5 separate regions of the Homo sapiens genome follow, and all the other regions are linked to region 1. Evidence: promoter capture Hi-C in 16 types of primary human blood cells and fetal thymus (Javierre and others, 2016). All regions are on one chromosome and are shown on one strand. The core of a region is centred on a gene start or on the middle of the fragment in contact, and the rest is flanking DNA. Distances in the headings are between cores, read along the strand shown.

Region 1 (2,785 bases), core at 124-2,623:
CTGCTAAAGCTTCCTTCCTTGCTTTAATCAAATGAAGAATGCACCAGATGAGGGTCACTTGGAACACATAGGGAAAGGTAGAATGCCTACAAAGAATCTTCCAGACCCCATACTACTGCATTTCCATGAAATGCACAAGGTCCATGGGAAGGATTATTTTACAAATGAGGAGGCTAGGGATTAAGAGGTCCTCAAACACACAGCCAAGAAATGGCAAAACAGGAATCACAGGCCTCAGACCAAAGCCACCATCCGAACAGTAACTCATTCCAGTTTTAAAAGTGACAGCATCACAACTGGCCACTGGATGACCTCAGAGTTCAATCCTGCTAAAAGTAGCTTTGGATTGAGACCATCCTGGCCAACAAAGTGAAATCCCGTCTCTACTAAAATACAAAAAATTAGCCAGGCATGGTGGCATGCACCTGTAGTCCCAGCTGCTCGGGAGGCTGAGGCAGGGGAATCCCTTGAATCCAGGAGGCAGAGGTTGCAGTGAGCTGAGACTGCACCACTGCACTCCAGCCTGGCGACAGGGCCAGACTTTGTCTCAAAAAAAAAAAAAAAGTAGCTTTGATGTTGAAAGGGGCTGGGTAGTAGAGATCAGTTAGTGGGCCCTCCCCAATCCTAGCCAAAAGGAGCACAGTATCCATTTCATTTTCACATCTTCAGGTTCTTCAAAGTCATGCCTAAAGTGGGGAAAGAATTAAAAGATCTACTGTCATTCTAACAGGATTCAAAGAGAGGAACCACTGGATGGAAAAATGTGAATTATTTTAGACAAAGCCTTTAGCATTTAAAATACTCCTCATCCCATAATTAATCTATTCCTTTCTCTCACGTTATCAGCATCAGTGCCTTGATATCAAAGTGTATGTCAATAAGTCACAGAAGGGAAGATAATAGTTGGAGTGACCTTCTGAGCTTCTAGGTTGTTCTACCCTCTCCCTTAAAGTCCTGGCTCAGGGGTGTGCCTCCTCAGGTCCACCAGGGAAAGCAGCTGTAGAGTAATCTGATCCTCTCCAAAATGTCCGTGACGCTGTCTCTGAAGAAGGACATTTCCCAAGTTTAAGCTATCATTACCTACTGCAGTCTTCTGTCTGGCTGAAGGAAGGAAGAAATAATCTCCTAAAGTGGCACATTGTGCAAATCTGATGCGTCAATCTTGAAGCACTGCCAAGCAATTCAGAAGAGAAATAAATCAATTCATTCCATCTCCTTAATGCTGCCGTGTCTAACAGGTTTCTATGCTGAAAATATCACCAGCTGGACACTGTGACACTTAATATTGCACCTTCAGAAATGAATTATCAGGCACAAGCCCAGTCTGATGTCATTCTCCTTCCCTGGTTCACTTGAATCTTCAAGAGAAAGAACACTCAGGCTCAGAAGGAACAATGATAAAATGGTAGAACAACATGACATCACCTCCGCATCACAAAACAGGCAAAGTTATAATCCTCTTCACTAGGATCCCTCTGTGACTCCTCTAAACAGAAACAATAACAAAAAAGCAGAGGCAGAGATTAAGCACACTTACAGATTTCAGAGGGGAAAAAACTTAGAAAAGTAAAAAACGAATGTGGACTGATGCCATGTAGGTTCTATTTACTTATCCATTAACGTCTTTGTTCAACATGTACTCATCGCATACTGGCTGTGTTAGAGGTATTATTCTAGGGACATGTAGATATGTAGGTGTACACAGCCCTGCCCTGAGAAAACCAAGCTTTGTGAGCAAGCAAAACAGGCTTCTAAATGGATGGTCATAAATTATGTGATGTCTGTATCAAAACATCTCATGTATCCTCTGAATATATATACCTACTCTGTACCCACAACAATTAAAAATTAAAAGTTTAAAAATAAAATACATTGCCACATATACATGAAAAATGAAATTCTGGAAAAAAATTAGAAAAATAAATTAATGTGATACATGGCACCAAAGAGGAAGGCAGTAGGTGAAATTGCCCAGGGGAATGAAGAGGAGGCTTCTAATGCTTGTTGGAATGGAGAAGGCGTCAGAGAGGTAACTTTTAATCAAGGTCTTAACAAAGGTACAAGGGTTTGCCAAGCAGAGAATTAACATTCCAGGGAGAAGCAGCGAGTCTAAGCATACCTGAGTTTGGTAGGTCTGATCACAGAAAGTAGGTTAGTGTAGTTATATCATGAGGTATATAGGAAAGCATGGTATGAGAGGACATTAAAGACAGGCTGCATTGGATATTCTATGCTGTGGTTATCTGTTGTTGTTTGAGACAAGGTCTTGCTACATGGCCCAGGCTGAAGAGCAGGGGCATGATCTCGGCTCACTGCAACATCTGCCTCCTGGGTTCAAGTAATTCTCTTGCCTCAGCCTCCTGAGTAGCTGGGACTACAGACGTGTGCCACCATGCCCAGGTAATTTTTTAATTTTTTGTAGAGACAGAGTTTCACAATGTTGGCCAGGCTAGTCTCAAACTCCTGGCCTCAAGTAATCTGCCTGCCTCAGCCTCCCAAAGTGCTGGGATTACAGGCATGAGCCACTGTGCCTGGCATGGTGTGGATATCTTAAAGGCAAATGACTTGGTAAAATAACTTAAATGAAAGTAACAAGGTAAAATTTGTGTTTTAGGGGGGAGAACTGCATGATTTTGAAGGTTGGATAAAAGAAGGCTACTGTACTGTCCAAGTTAGAAGATATGAAACCTCAGAGAGACTGGAGTAGTAGAAACATAGATTAAAGGAGGGCTATAAGAAGTTCTTTTTTGATTGGATAAGGGAACAGGGATGAGGTCAAGGGCAG
Region 2 (2,785 bases), core at 113-2,612, 420 kb after region 1:
AGCTTCAATAAACTCTGTCTTCTCACTGTACTCAAGGACTTGCCCTTAATTCCTTTCTGCATGAGAGCCAAGAACTCTCTCTTGGGGTCTGGATTGGAATCCCTTTTTCTGGCAACAGATGTGAACAAGATATTGCTTGGGAGAAATGAAAGATTTGTCAAAGAATGAGAATAGTTAACAACATTAAAGACATGTACCTTGCCCACATTAACAGCCTATAACTCCATGTGTTATCAGAAAAGAAAAACATAAATATTCACTGCCAAGCTAATATATATTTCAGGGCTTGGCATGCCATATCATGATACCATTCAAGATACTGTCAAGGAACACCAATGTCCACATTCCATCAGTACAATATCCCTACCCCTCTTGCTGTCCATGACAGCAGGGCCACTAACTGGAATGCTGTCTCTCCACAGAGACCCCCAACCTCCAGCCTGTCATTACAAAGGATGGGTCTAAAATGTCACATTTAGAACCACTGAAAACTTGAAACTTTTTTCCATTTCCATCCCTCTTAGTGTCATTAATCAAACAGAGCCTCTTTCATATTATTTACTTGGCTGTTCCTCAAATCTCTTCAGACAACCAAAACAATCTAGAAAGTACAGTGTAGCTTTTAAGAACACAGATTTTGATGTCCAATTAGATCTTGGTTCAACTTCCAGTTTTAAACTTCCTAGTGGACTTAGCATGTTAGGGGCCAGTCAAGGGGAGGAGAAGGAGGAAGAGGAGGAGGAGGAGGAAGAGGAGGAGGACAAAGAGGAGGAGGAGGAGGAGGTGAAAGAACATTCTAAGAGCTCCAGAGAGAATGGAATGTAATACAAGGAAATATACCACAAGTTAAGGGAAAGGTAAGAAGCAAATTCAACTCTAGTCAGTGTGGGCTGCCATAACAAAATATAGACTTGGTGACTTAAATGACAGAAAGCTCTGGGTGATAGCACAGTCAGTTTCTGGTGAGGGCTCTCTCCCTGGCTTGCAGAGGGCCACCTTCTCATCATGTCCTCACATGACAGAGCAAGAGTGAGCTCTCCAGTGTCTCTTTTTATAAAGACACTAATCCAATCAGATCAGGGTCCTACCCTTAAAGCTCATTTAGCCTTATTTACTTCCTTAAAGGCCCTATATCGAAATACAGTAACATTGGGAGCTTAGGGCTTCAACATATGAATTTGGGGTGGGGGAGAGGGAACAGTTCAGTTCATCACAGGGGATAATGGGGCAACTCAGAAATTAGCAATGGAAAAAAGCCATTATCACCTCTGGGGTTGCAGCACACAAGAAGTAGATGTTGCTACCAGAGACCAGAACCCAGGATCATCCAGAGGGAGCTAGAATTATGGCAGCAGGGGCAGCCTGGTGAGAACTGAGACCATGGAGGGGAGAGGTGTCCAAGGGAAGTCATACTCAAGAACTCAAGCAGGAAAAGGAGACACTACCTCTGCTGGACGTGGGGCCTGAAAGAAAGGTGGGGAGGTGATGGTGGCAGGTATTCTCTGATTTGTCCCTCCTCCCTTTTCTACCCTTTCTCTGGTTCCTCCCATGACCCAGTAGCATATGCAATCTAATCAAGAAGGGAGCCTGAACTATGCAACTCCTGTGATAAAGAGTAGAGCAGGGTCAGTGTGAGAAATTGAGCTGAGAACAAGCATTGAAAGATGACTGGCACACTCACCATGTGACTTTAGGCGACTCATCCTACTTTTCTTCACATCCCTTTTCTCATCTGAAACATGGGGCCAATAAAAGATAATTTGATCACTGTTAAATCAAGTTTAGCCTAAAGCTGCCTCTTGGAATATTTTAAGTTTGGCCTGTGACAAGAAAATAAATCTTGGAGCCCCAAAAATCACTAAGCTAAAGGGAAAAGGCAAGCTGGGGACTGCTTAGGGCAAATCTGCCTCCCATTCTATTCTGCTCACTGAGATAAAAGCATATTTGATTGCCTCCTTTGGAGAGGCTAATCAGAAACTCAAAAGAGGCTGGGCATGGTGGCTCACATCTGTAATCCCAGCACTTTGGGAGGCCGAGGCTGGTGGATCACTTGAGGTCAGGAGTCTGAGACAAGCCTGGCCAGTGTGGTGAAACCCCATCTCTACTAAAAATACCAAAATTAGCCAGATGTGGTGGCACGTGCCTGTAATCCCAACTACTTGGGAGGCTGAGGCATGAGAATCACTTGAACCTGGGAGGCAGAGGTTGCAGTGAGGCAAGATCACACCACTGCACTCCAGTCTGGGCAACAGAGTGAGACTCCATCTCAAAGAAAAAAAAAAGAAGAAGAAGAAAAAGAAACTCAAAAGAATGCAACCATTTGTCTCTTTTCTACCTGTGACCTGTAAGCCCCCTCCCTGCTTTGAGTTGTTCTGCCTTTCCAGACCAAACCAGTGTTCCTCTTACATATGTTGATTGATGTCTGATGTCTCCCTAAACTGTATAAAACCAACCTGTGCTCTGACCACCTTAGGAACATGTTGTCAGGACCTCTTGAGGCTGTGTCACAGGTATGCATCCTCAACCTTGGCAAAATGAACTTTCTAAATTAACCGAGACCTGTTTCAGATATTCAGTGTTCACAGGCCTAAAGGTCTACAGTCTGTTTATACCTGCACTTGTTAGAGTTCTGTACATCATGAACTATAACAAGTGGAGGTATAAGCAGACTGTAGCCTACACTTTTGCCAATCACCAAGTTGGGCCAATGAAATGTAACCCACTGTTCAAACCATATTCAAATAAGGCAAATGTTGAGCTGTAACCAGTCCGGCTGTTTCTGCAC
Region 3 (2,785 bases), core at 86-2,585, 350 kb after region 1:
TTAACTGTACATTTTTTAATAACTAAAAGAGTATAATTGGATTGTTTGTAACACAAGGGATAAATGCTTCAGGGAAGGGATACCCCATTCTACATGATGTGATTACACACTACATGCCTGTATCAAAACATCGCATGTACCCCATAAAGCTATACACCTACTATGTACCCGCAATAATTAAAAATAAAAAAACTTAAATTTAAATTAAAAAAAGTGTAATTTTTTTAATATCTCAAGCCTTATTTTTTCTTTCAATTACAGCCCTATGTCTTCTGTCCTTTTCTCAGTCGCATTTCTAAAAGGAGTTGTCTACACTCACTGTCTCTATTTCTTAATTTCTCACTCATTCCACAACCCACTGAAACCTTGCATCTCCCCTCAACAGCCCACCCAACCACTGAGCTAAGTTGCCAATGACTTCTGCAAGGTATACTTTTGACCTGGGCCTCCGTAGCCTCTCAGCAGCACTCTGTGGAGTTAACTATTTTCTTTTTTGTCTTTCATGGTCTCCTCCTGGGTATCCTCCCACCTTTCTGAACAGTCTTTTAGTTTATCCTTCCCTGTTTCACATTCAAAGGTTGGAGTTTCCCAAGATTGATTCCTAGGCTACTTCTCCTTTTCATTCTTTCTTCTACACAAAATCAGCCACTCTCATATCTTCATTCGCCACCTGCATATTGACCATTTGTGAACATGCATCTTTAGATCACATCCATGTGTCCGATTTGGTCTCCACTTGGCTATCTGATGCAGGCCAGAGCCTGCAGAGCACACACTGACCTGAAATGTGAGTAATAAGGTGTTTCCTATATGAACCTGTCCAAGGAAGAAGTTGAACGTCCTACAGTTTCCCCTTGGACCCTAAGCAAGGAGCTCTGGAGCCAATATTGCCCACCGAGTGTCCCGCCTTACTCATTCACCAGACGTGAGCTGCTCCAAGAGGGGCACGCCCTCTAGGGAGGCAGCTCTGCCCCTCCGGCAGACCCTGAAGTTGCTGACTGCTGATGGCTATCTGCAGCCTGCCTTCCGCTGGGCTGGATAGCAAGTCCTTCCCTGAAGGGGGAACTCGGTGGCACATTTCTTCACCTACCACAATATCTCATAGGCACTTTAACTACAAAACAAAATTGAGCTAATTCCCTCAAAACTCACTTTCTTCCAACTGTTCCTGACCTCTGGAAATAGCACCCTCATCTATGCAGTTGCACACACCAGAAACCCAACTCTGATCCTAATGCCGCTTTTCCCTCGCACCCTGCCCTTAGCCTAACCTTAGTACTGTCTCTGCTCAGTGATTGAAATAATCTTCCAACTGCCCTCCCCACATCCTCTCAGCCCCATCTAGACCTTTCTTTACACTCAAACAGAGGGAATGACCCTTTTAAAACACAAATATATACTATCTCTTAGCCTGGCTTCCCATTACTCTTAGAATAAAGATCAAAATCTTTTACTGTCCCAGCCTATAGGAGGACAAGGCAGGTGTGTCACTTGAGCCTAGGAATTCAAGACCAGCCTGGGCAACATTACAAAAACCCATCTCTACAAAAAATACAAAAATTAGGTAGGCATGGTGACACATGCCTGCAGTCCCAGCTACTTGGGAGGCCAAAATGTGAGGATCAACTGAGCTGGGGAGGTGGAAGCTGCAGTGAGACATGATTGGGCCACTACACTCTAGCCTGGGTGATGGAGTAAAACCCTGTCTCAATTTCTTTAATCCTTTACTGGAGTCACAAGTTCCTGCATAATCTGGCTCCTCCCTCCCCATGGGTCTGGGTAGTTCAGCTATAAGGGACTTCATTCAGGCCCTAGAAATATGCAATGCTCATTCCCATCTCAGACCTTTGCATATGCTGTTTGCTCTGCCTGAAATAGACTGTCATCATTCCCCACTCAACCCAACTGACACCAATTTGCCCTTAAGATTTCAGCTTTAGTGTCTGTTTCTCAGAAAATCTTCTCTGACCTCCAGACTCCCTGTGAAAGGATATTGCATCACCGTAATTATCAGCACAATTGCAATGGTATAGAAACAGTTAATAACATACAGTCAATGTCTGATGCAGGTTAGTGCCTTAATTCAAGGATTTCATGTCTGCAAATTTGCCCACTCACTAAAATTTAGTTTAGTAACCTCCAAATCAATACTTATGATGCTTTCATGGTCATTCATTGACACGCACAAAGTAGAAGAAATTTTGAGTTGTCTGATGCACATGTCGGACCAGCTGAGGTCCAACATGGTGGCATTCTGCCTTCTTGTTTCTACTCTCATACTGTAAATATTCTTTTTGTGATCTAGTTACTGCCACATTTTTCACATTTTTGTGTCTTTTTTGACGATTTCATTGTTTAAAAATGGTCCCCAAGCATTAAAGTGCTGTCTAGTGTTTCTAAGTGCAAAAAGGCTGGGATGTGCCTTACAGAGAAAATAGGTAAATTTCATTCAGGCATGAGTGATATGCTGTTAGCCCTGAGTTCATGTTAATGAATCAACTATATTAAATAAGACGTCTTTAAACAGAAACACACATAAAACAAGGTTATATATTGATTAGCTGACAAAAATGTCGTGACCAGAGGCTCACAGGAACCTAACTCTGTGTTTCCCCCTAAGAGCAATGGCGCCGTGTTTGCTAATTTAGTGTTCCAGGTGACTTTATAGAACTTTCCTACCTAAAAAAAATGAAAGCCCCTGCAATTAGTTTTTTTATTATCTCTCCCCCGACAAAATGTAAACTCCAAAAGAACAGGAACAGTTTGTCTTAATCACAGTTGTATT
Region 4 (2,785 bases), core at 78-2,577, 330 kb after region 1:
TACGGGAAAACTGGATACTGGGCAATATAAAAGGTGTCAGCCCAGGTGGTGGTTTGAACTAGGATGATAGCAACAGAGACTGTGTTAACTAATTGAGTTCAGGTTAGGACTTGGTGGAACTGAGAAAGAGAGGTCTAAGGCTTTTATATTGACTGAGTCATCCATGCCTTTTGAAAGTCTTTTCTACGTCTTCCCGGAAAGAAGATGGTTTGCAAACCTATGGAATCTTTATGTGTTTATTTGGTAAATATCTTTGTCTAAGTTGTCATTTGAAATTCCATGTAGCTGCCTTTCATGAGCACTAAAAGCTCACTAGAAAAACTCCAGATATAGCATATAGTTTTTAAATAAAGCAGATTCTTTTCTTCTTGCCTCTGAAACTGGGACATCATGCCCTAGGTTTGTGTGCCAGGTCAATGGCATCAAAAGTAAAACAGTAAAGGTAAGTCCAGCCTAATGAAAGTAAAGCAAGATAAAAGCAGAACACTGCAGAGGCTCAATTTTTCCAGTAGCACTAAAATATAAATGATTTTGTGTAAGTGATCGTTCCAGCTCTAATTGAACTACACAACCAGAAGTCTCAAAGAAAGCAGCTCTATTTAGGTTAGACTTACTTGACTGTCTTATTTAACAGAGCATGGGTTTTGGAGTCATTTGATGTAAACATGAATGCTATCTCTTCTTTATGTGTCCATCAACACTCAATTTCTCTAAACCTCTATTTCCTCACTTACAAAGAAAATAATCTACTTTATGCATTGGTTGTAAGAAATAAGCTAGTTTGTAAATAACCTGTCATAAAATGTAAATACTCTGTGATGGCCAGTTACTATTTTGTAATGTCTTCTCTAGAGTAAAAATGTGCTATCAAGTTGTAGGCAATATAAATAATTCAGCTAGAATATTATGCAATGGAGAATTTTTTCAACAGCTAGTAGGCTAAAGTAAATCACAGAAAAGCCCCCTACCAAAAGTTCTCTTGGTTGGAAAAACCCATACTTTCTATGGTTTGAACATTTATGTTTCCCCAAAATTCATATACTGAATTTCTAACTCCCACGCTATTAAGAGGTGGGGCCTTTTGGAAGGTGATTAGGTCACAATGGTGGAGCATTCATGAATAAAATTAGTGCCCTTATAAGAGAGACCCGAGAGACAACTATCCCTTTCCACCATGTGAGAACACAAGAAGAAGATATCATCTATGAAGCAGGAAATGGGCCCCCCAGCAGACAATGAATCTGTCAGTGTCTTCATCTTGGACTTCCCAGCCTCTAGAACTGTGGGAAATACCTGTTGTTTATAAGCCACCCAGTTTAAGGTCATTTGTCATAGCAGCCCAATCCAACTAAGATAGCATCCTAATAAGAATAGTGACTGTCTCATTTACTATTATGCATAAGGGTTGCTGATGACTTAGTATTAACGTTTCCAGAAACTAAGACCACCTCCCAGAGAGAAGAGATGGTGGATTTGGGATATTTCCTACTATGTAGTTCTTCAACTTCTTTCTTCCCTTTTAATACTTCCTATAGTTGAGACACAACAAAAGCATAAAATACTGATATGATAAATGTAATAGACTAACTGATCATAGAAGCAACAGGAGTAGGGGAGATGGAGAGAATAGTGATAGTGACACTGAATATATTGAATACAAGGCATGAGCTGCAAGCTATTCGGTTGGTGCAAAAGTAATGGCAAAAGCCGAAATTATTTTTGTACCAACTTAATATATCATTTTAATCCTTCCACCAAATCCTTGAGGAGGAGCCCATTTCCCATATTGCACACTGGGGTTAGATAGTGTGTCCAAGGTCATACAGCTGTGAGAAGGCAGAGCTGGGATTTGGACCCAAATTTATCTGACTCCAAATTCATGTGATTTCCACTATATCAAGACAAAAAACCAGCCATCCTGGGCAGTTTCACAGAAAGACAACCAGCAGCCTCAAGGGTGGGTGTGAATAAACAAAATTTAAGTGAATGTAAGATAACTATTTTGCATGAGCTGCTTTTTTTTTTGTTTTGTATTAGATAGTCCTTCCATTGCATGTTATATGACCCAACACTGTCATCCCTGTTCTCCCTCCTGACCTGTCACCTGATCACTGAGCAACTCAGCCCTGGCTGTCCCCATAGAGGAGACCCTCAAGCACCCAGAACCGGGAACATTGGTTTCTCTTTTCCCCCACCCACCCCAAACCCACACCCAGTCTGGTTGAGGTCGGTAGACTTAGCAGTCTTACTCCAAACCTTTTTCTTCCTAGCTCTTCCCATGTGACCACTCAACTCTGACCTACAAACCAACAGCTCAGGCAGAGAGGCAGCTTCTCATAAAATGCAGAAAGAAGGATGACAACTTTTCCAAAGGAAATACTCAGTGGAAAAAGCACAAGAGCCCCAGGAGAGCAAAGGATGCTTTCTCTATCAAAACCCTAGAACATTGATTAATGATATTCTAGGAGATGCAGTCACCTTGTGACATCTGAAATACTGTTGTGCATTTAGTTTGAACTGTGTAGAGACCTCAGCTCCCTCCTGAGACATATTTACTGCCCAATCTTCTTTCTGACAAAAGATTCACTTTCCAGAAAATCGTACCTCGTATTATTATCATTAGCTCATTTTAAAGTTATGCGGGGTTTGTCTAGAGGAAATTTAATTGGTGAGAGGCTACTCCAAGCCCCTTTAGACTCATACATCAAAGCTTTATCCAACAAGCACTCTTAGTCACAATATCATGTTAAGGGATGAAAAAAGAAAGAAAACAATAATTTAGTGC
Region 5 (2,785 bases), core at 196-2,695, 300 kb after region 1:
GAGTGACAGCATGTTTCAAGCTCCTTAGGTGAAAAAGCAACAAACACAGTCAACAGAGGGAGTTCTGAGTGGTACTGAGTGTCTGGAATGTGGCAGACAAAGCCAACAAGTTTCCTCATACCTAAGGGGACATGATAATCTCAGAGAATAACTTACTCGTTATTTTTCCTTCCACTATTACAAGCTCGAAGCTTGATATATATAAAAGAAGCTGCTTTATCCTAGGTTTAAAAATGCAATATCAAGAATGCTCTGCTCTATTATATAAAGGATCCAATAAGAATAAAGTCAGAGATGACGGGGGAAAATATGTATATGAAGATAAATGGCTAAAGCTCAGGTAGAGGGGGAACCATGCCCCTGTGAATGGCCTCAGGCAAAACTGTCAAGGCTAGGAACTTGTTTCCAGCCACCCTGAATCTCTGCCTTTGTTAGATTTCCTGTTTCTGTCCTTCCCCTGCTCCTCAGTGCTCTCAGCCTGTCATCAGGGTCATTTTTGTGTTTCATTTCTAGTGTTGTGAGTTAGAAGTGGACATTTTCATGCTGAAGTTTTTAGGAAGAAGAGTTAAGATGGCTGCAATTTACTTTAAAATGCATCCAAAAATAAGATAGGTTAGTGGGTGGATAGCTGGATAGATGTGTGATGAAGCCAGTGTAGTAAAATGTTAATGGTACAATCCAGAGATGCAGGAAAAGTGGGGATATTTTGCTCTACTTGTGAAACCATTCCTAATAAAATGGTGAACAAACTGTGGGCATATTGGCCCAAATTTGGCCAGTGGACACCTCCTCAGTTTTGCTCCTGAGTCCTTTGGACATGAATCTAGTAGTCTTTGACAGCTTGCCTGCTACTTGTAATGACATGATTATTGCAAGCTCATCTACCCTGACCTAGAAACAGACAATTCAGTGGGAAACAATATTTAAAGGCAAGAATCTCAGTGCTACCAATATTCATTGTGACTGGTCTGGTCATTGTTTTATGGCCTTTTCAGAGGACAAAGCTAGGATACAGACAGGTGATAGGTAAAGAGAGAAACAGAAACAATAAGAAAAAGAAAGAGAAAGAAAAAGAGAAAGATTTTTTTAAGGTAAGATGTCCTATGAGTTCACACAAACATTTCCTTTTCAAATTAATGCAATGGGAATTTTCCTACCTTGTCCTATATTACTTCTGTACTGTCCTTCTTCCACAGTGAGAATTCTGGTTCTCAAGGCACAGATGATATAGAATTAGAATACCTCATAATTTATCTATGCTCTGCCCCACATTATACAAACAGTTTCAGAAAGATGATAGTAACATAGCCAATTCTGATTACTGAAACCAATTAAAAATGTTTACATATGCTTTCCCCAATCTGCCCTCCTTTTAGACATTGTATTTTATCAACATTGTCAGAGCATGTAGTCATTGCAGACCATACTCTCTCTTTTAATCCTCATTTATCCTTACTTCTAAAGGTAACCCCCATTTACTCTGATTTCTAAAGATAACTATATATTCTATCCTCATCATCAGTCCTAATGCTGAGGTCTTCCTTCTCATTTTTGTCTGGAATGTTCTTTAGTAGATTCCTCAGGAAAAGTTTATGGAAATAATAGCTCTTTATTTCTTGCATTTTAATTACAGATTGTGTCCTTCATCAACAAAATTCAGTTTCTAATACATTCTTAGCTCACATTTTCTTTCCTTGAATATCTTAAATATATTCACATCATTTCCTTTGTCATAAAGGATTGCTGCTGAAAAGTCTGAGGATAATCTAACTTCCCCCTTAAATATCACATTCTCTTTTGCTTATATGCCCAAATGATTTTTGTTTCTCTTTAAAGTCCAGTAATTTTACTAGAATATACCTTGGGGGTCATATAGATTCATTCTGGATCTATATTTTCAGATGCATGATATGATCTTTCAGTTTGGGCATCAATAAAAATACAATGAATTGAAGTCCATAAAATTCTATATCAAATCAGGAATTTATAATGATGCAAAAAATTAACTTATCTTAAGACAGGAAACCAACTCATTACCTTAAAAACTGGTAAAGGGAAGAAATCATGCATTTATCCTCCATTTTCCATGTAATCACTGAGTAACCAAATAGTAAATAAGAAAAAGACATACTCATAAAAATATTTTCAGATAATAAATAAAAACCCAATGATTAAAGTATAACATCAGCATTTTGCATGTCAGAAGGCTTATTTTAGATTCCATCCAAACCTTTTATGTTGCCCTTGAAGATGACTGCATATAATCTAATAAATCTGTAGTCATCAGCTATCTTAAGTGATTTGTTATTGATGTGAGATGGGTAGGACGAGACATTTGTGGAGAAAGAATATATTAGCTTTCTCTGTGGAGGCTGTGCTGTCCAAAATAACCTTTCAGTCTCTTTGAAGTCTCATCCAAAGGGCATATGAATTTACAAGTGGCCCACCAACAACAGAGGCAGCATCAAAGCAGGCCAAACTAAGATCTTAATTATGGATTTCCAGGAACAGCGGCCATGTGGACAGAAAAAAAGCTGAATAAAATGGCATAAACACGAAAATTAATAATACCCACTATGGATGATAAGAGCTAGAATTTTCCAAGAGTTTACCATGTGCAGCACCAGGCTAATCTCATTCAATCCTCACAACAAGCCTTTGAGGCACATACTGTGACTTTCCTGATTTAAAAGTCAATTGTAAGCTTTCCTGGATTATAAAATATTTCTGAATGTTTCACATTTTAAAAAAGGATAACATTTTACTGATTGTTTCATACTGAGAC

The links. Contacts are between HindIII fragments. The CHiCAGO score rates a contact against its expected background, and 5 or more counts as called.
Region 2: a fragment that was not itself captured here is called in contact with the fragment with the promoter of ADAM7-AS2 in region 1 in 1 of 17 cell types (megakaryocytes); the score reaches 5.5 in megakaryocytes.
Region 3: a contact is called between a fragment that was not itself captured here and the fragment with the promoter of ADAM7-AS2 in region 1, in 2 of 17 cell types (endothelial precursors and megakaryocytes). The highest score is 8.4, in endothelial precursors.
Region 4: a contact is called between a fragment that was not itself captured here and the fragment with the promoter of ADAM7-AS2 in region 1, in 1 of 17 cell types (endothelial precursors). The highest score is 5.8, in endothelial precursors.
Region 5: a fragment that was not itself captured here is called in contact with the fragment with the promoter of ADAM7-AS2 in region 1 in 1 of 17 cell types (megakaryocytes); the score reaches 5.1 in megakaryocytes.

What each region holds. Positions count from the first base shown.
Region 1 is chr8:24,513,495-24,516,279 of GRCh38, forward strand. ADAM7-AS2 (ADAM7 antisense RNA 2) reads right to left here and starts at 1,374. Exons shown (of 5, transcript NR_125809.1): 1 at 1,292-1,374; 2 at 1,081-1,170. The region is part of intron 1 of ADAM7-AS1 (ADAM7, ADAMDEC1 and ADAM28 antisense RNA 1); the gene reads right to left. The HindIII fragment of the contact is 1,717 bases long and covers 8-1,724 here.
Region 2 is chr8:24,929,024-24,931,808 of GRCh38, forward strand. No RefSeq gene overlaps it. Among named protein-coding and RNA genes, the nearest start is that of NEFM, 17 kb to the left of the region's middle. The HindIII fragment of the contact is 3,543 bases long and covers 1-2,785 here.
Region 3 is chr8:24,864,467-24,867,251 of GRCh38, forward strand. No RefSeq gene overlaps it. Among named protein-coding and RNA genes, the nearest start is that of NEFM, 48 kb to the right of the region's middle. The HindIII fragment of the contact is 6,520 bases long and covers 1-2,785 here.
Region 4 is chr8:24,846,137-24,848,921 of GRCh38, forward strand. No RefSeq gene overlaps it. Among named protein-coding and RNA genes, the nearest start is that of NEFM, 66 kb to the right of the region's middle. The HindIII fragment of the contact is 2,761 bases long and covers 1-2,708 here.
Region 5 is chr8:24,818,332-24,821,116 of GRCh38, forward strand. No RefSeq gene overlaps it. Among named protein-coding and RNA genes, the nearest start is that of NEFM, 94 kb to the right of the region's middle. The HindIII fragment of the contact is 2,513 bases long and covers 190-2,702 here.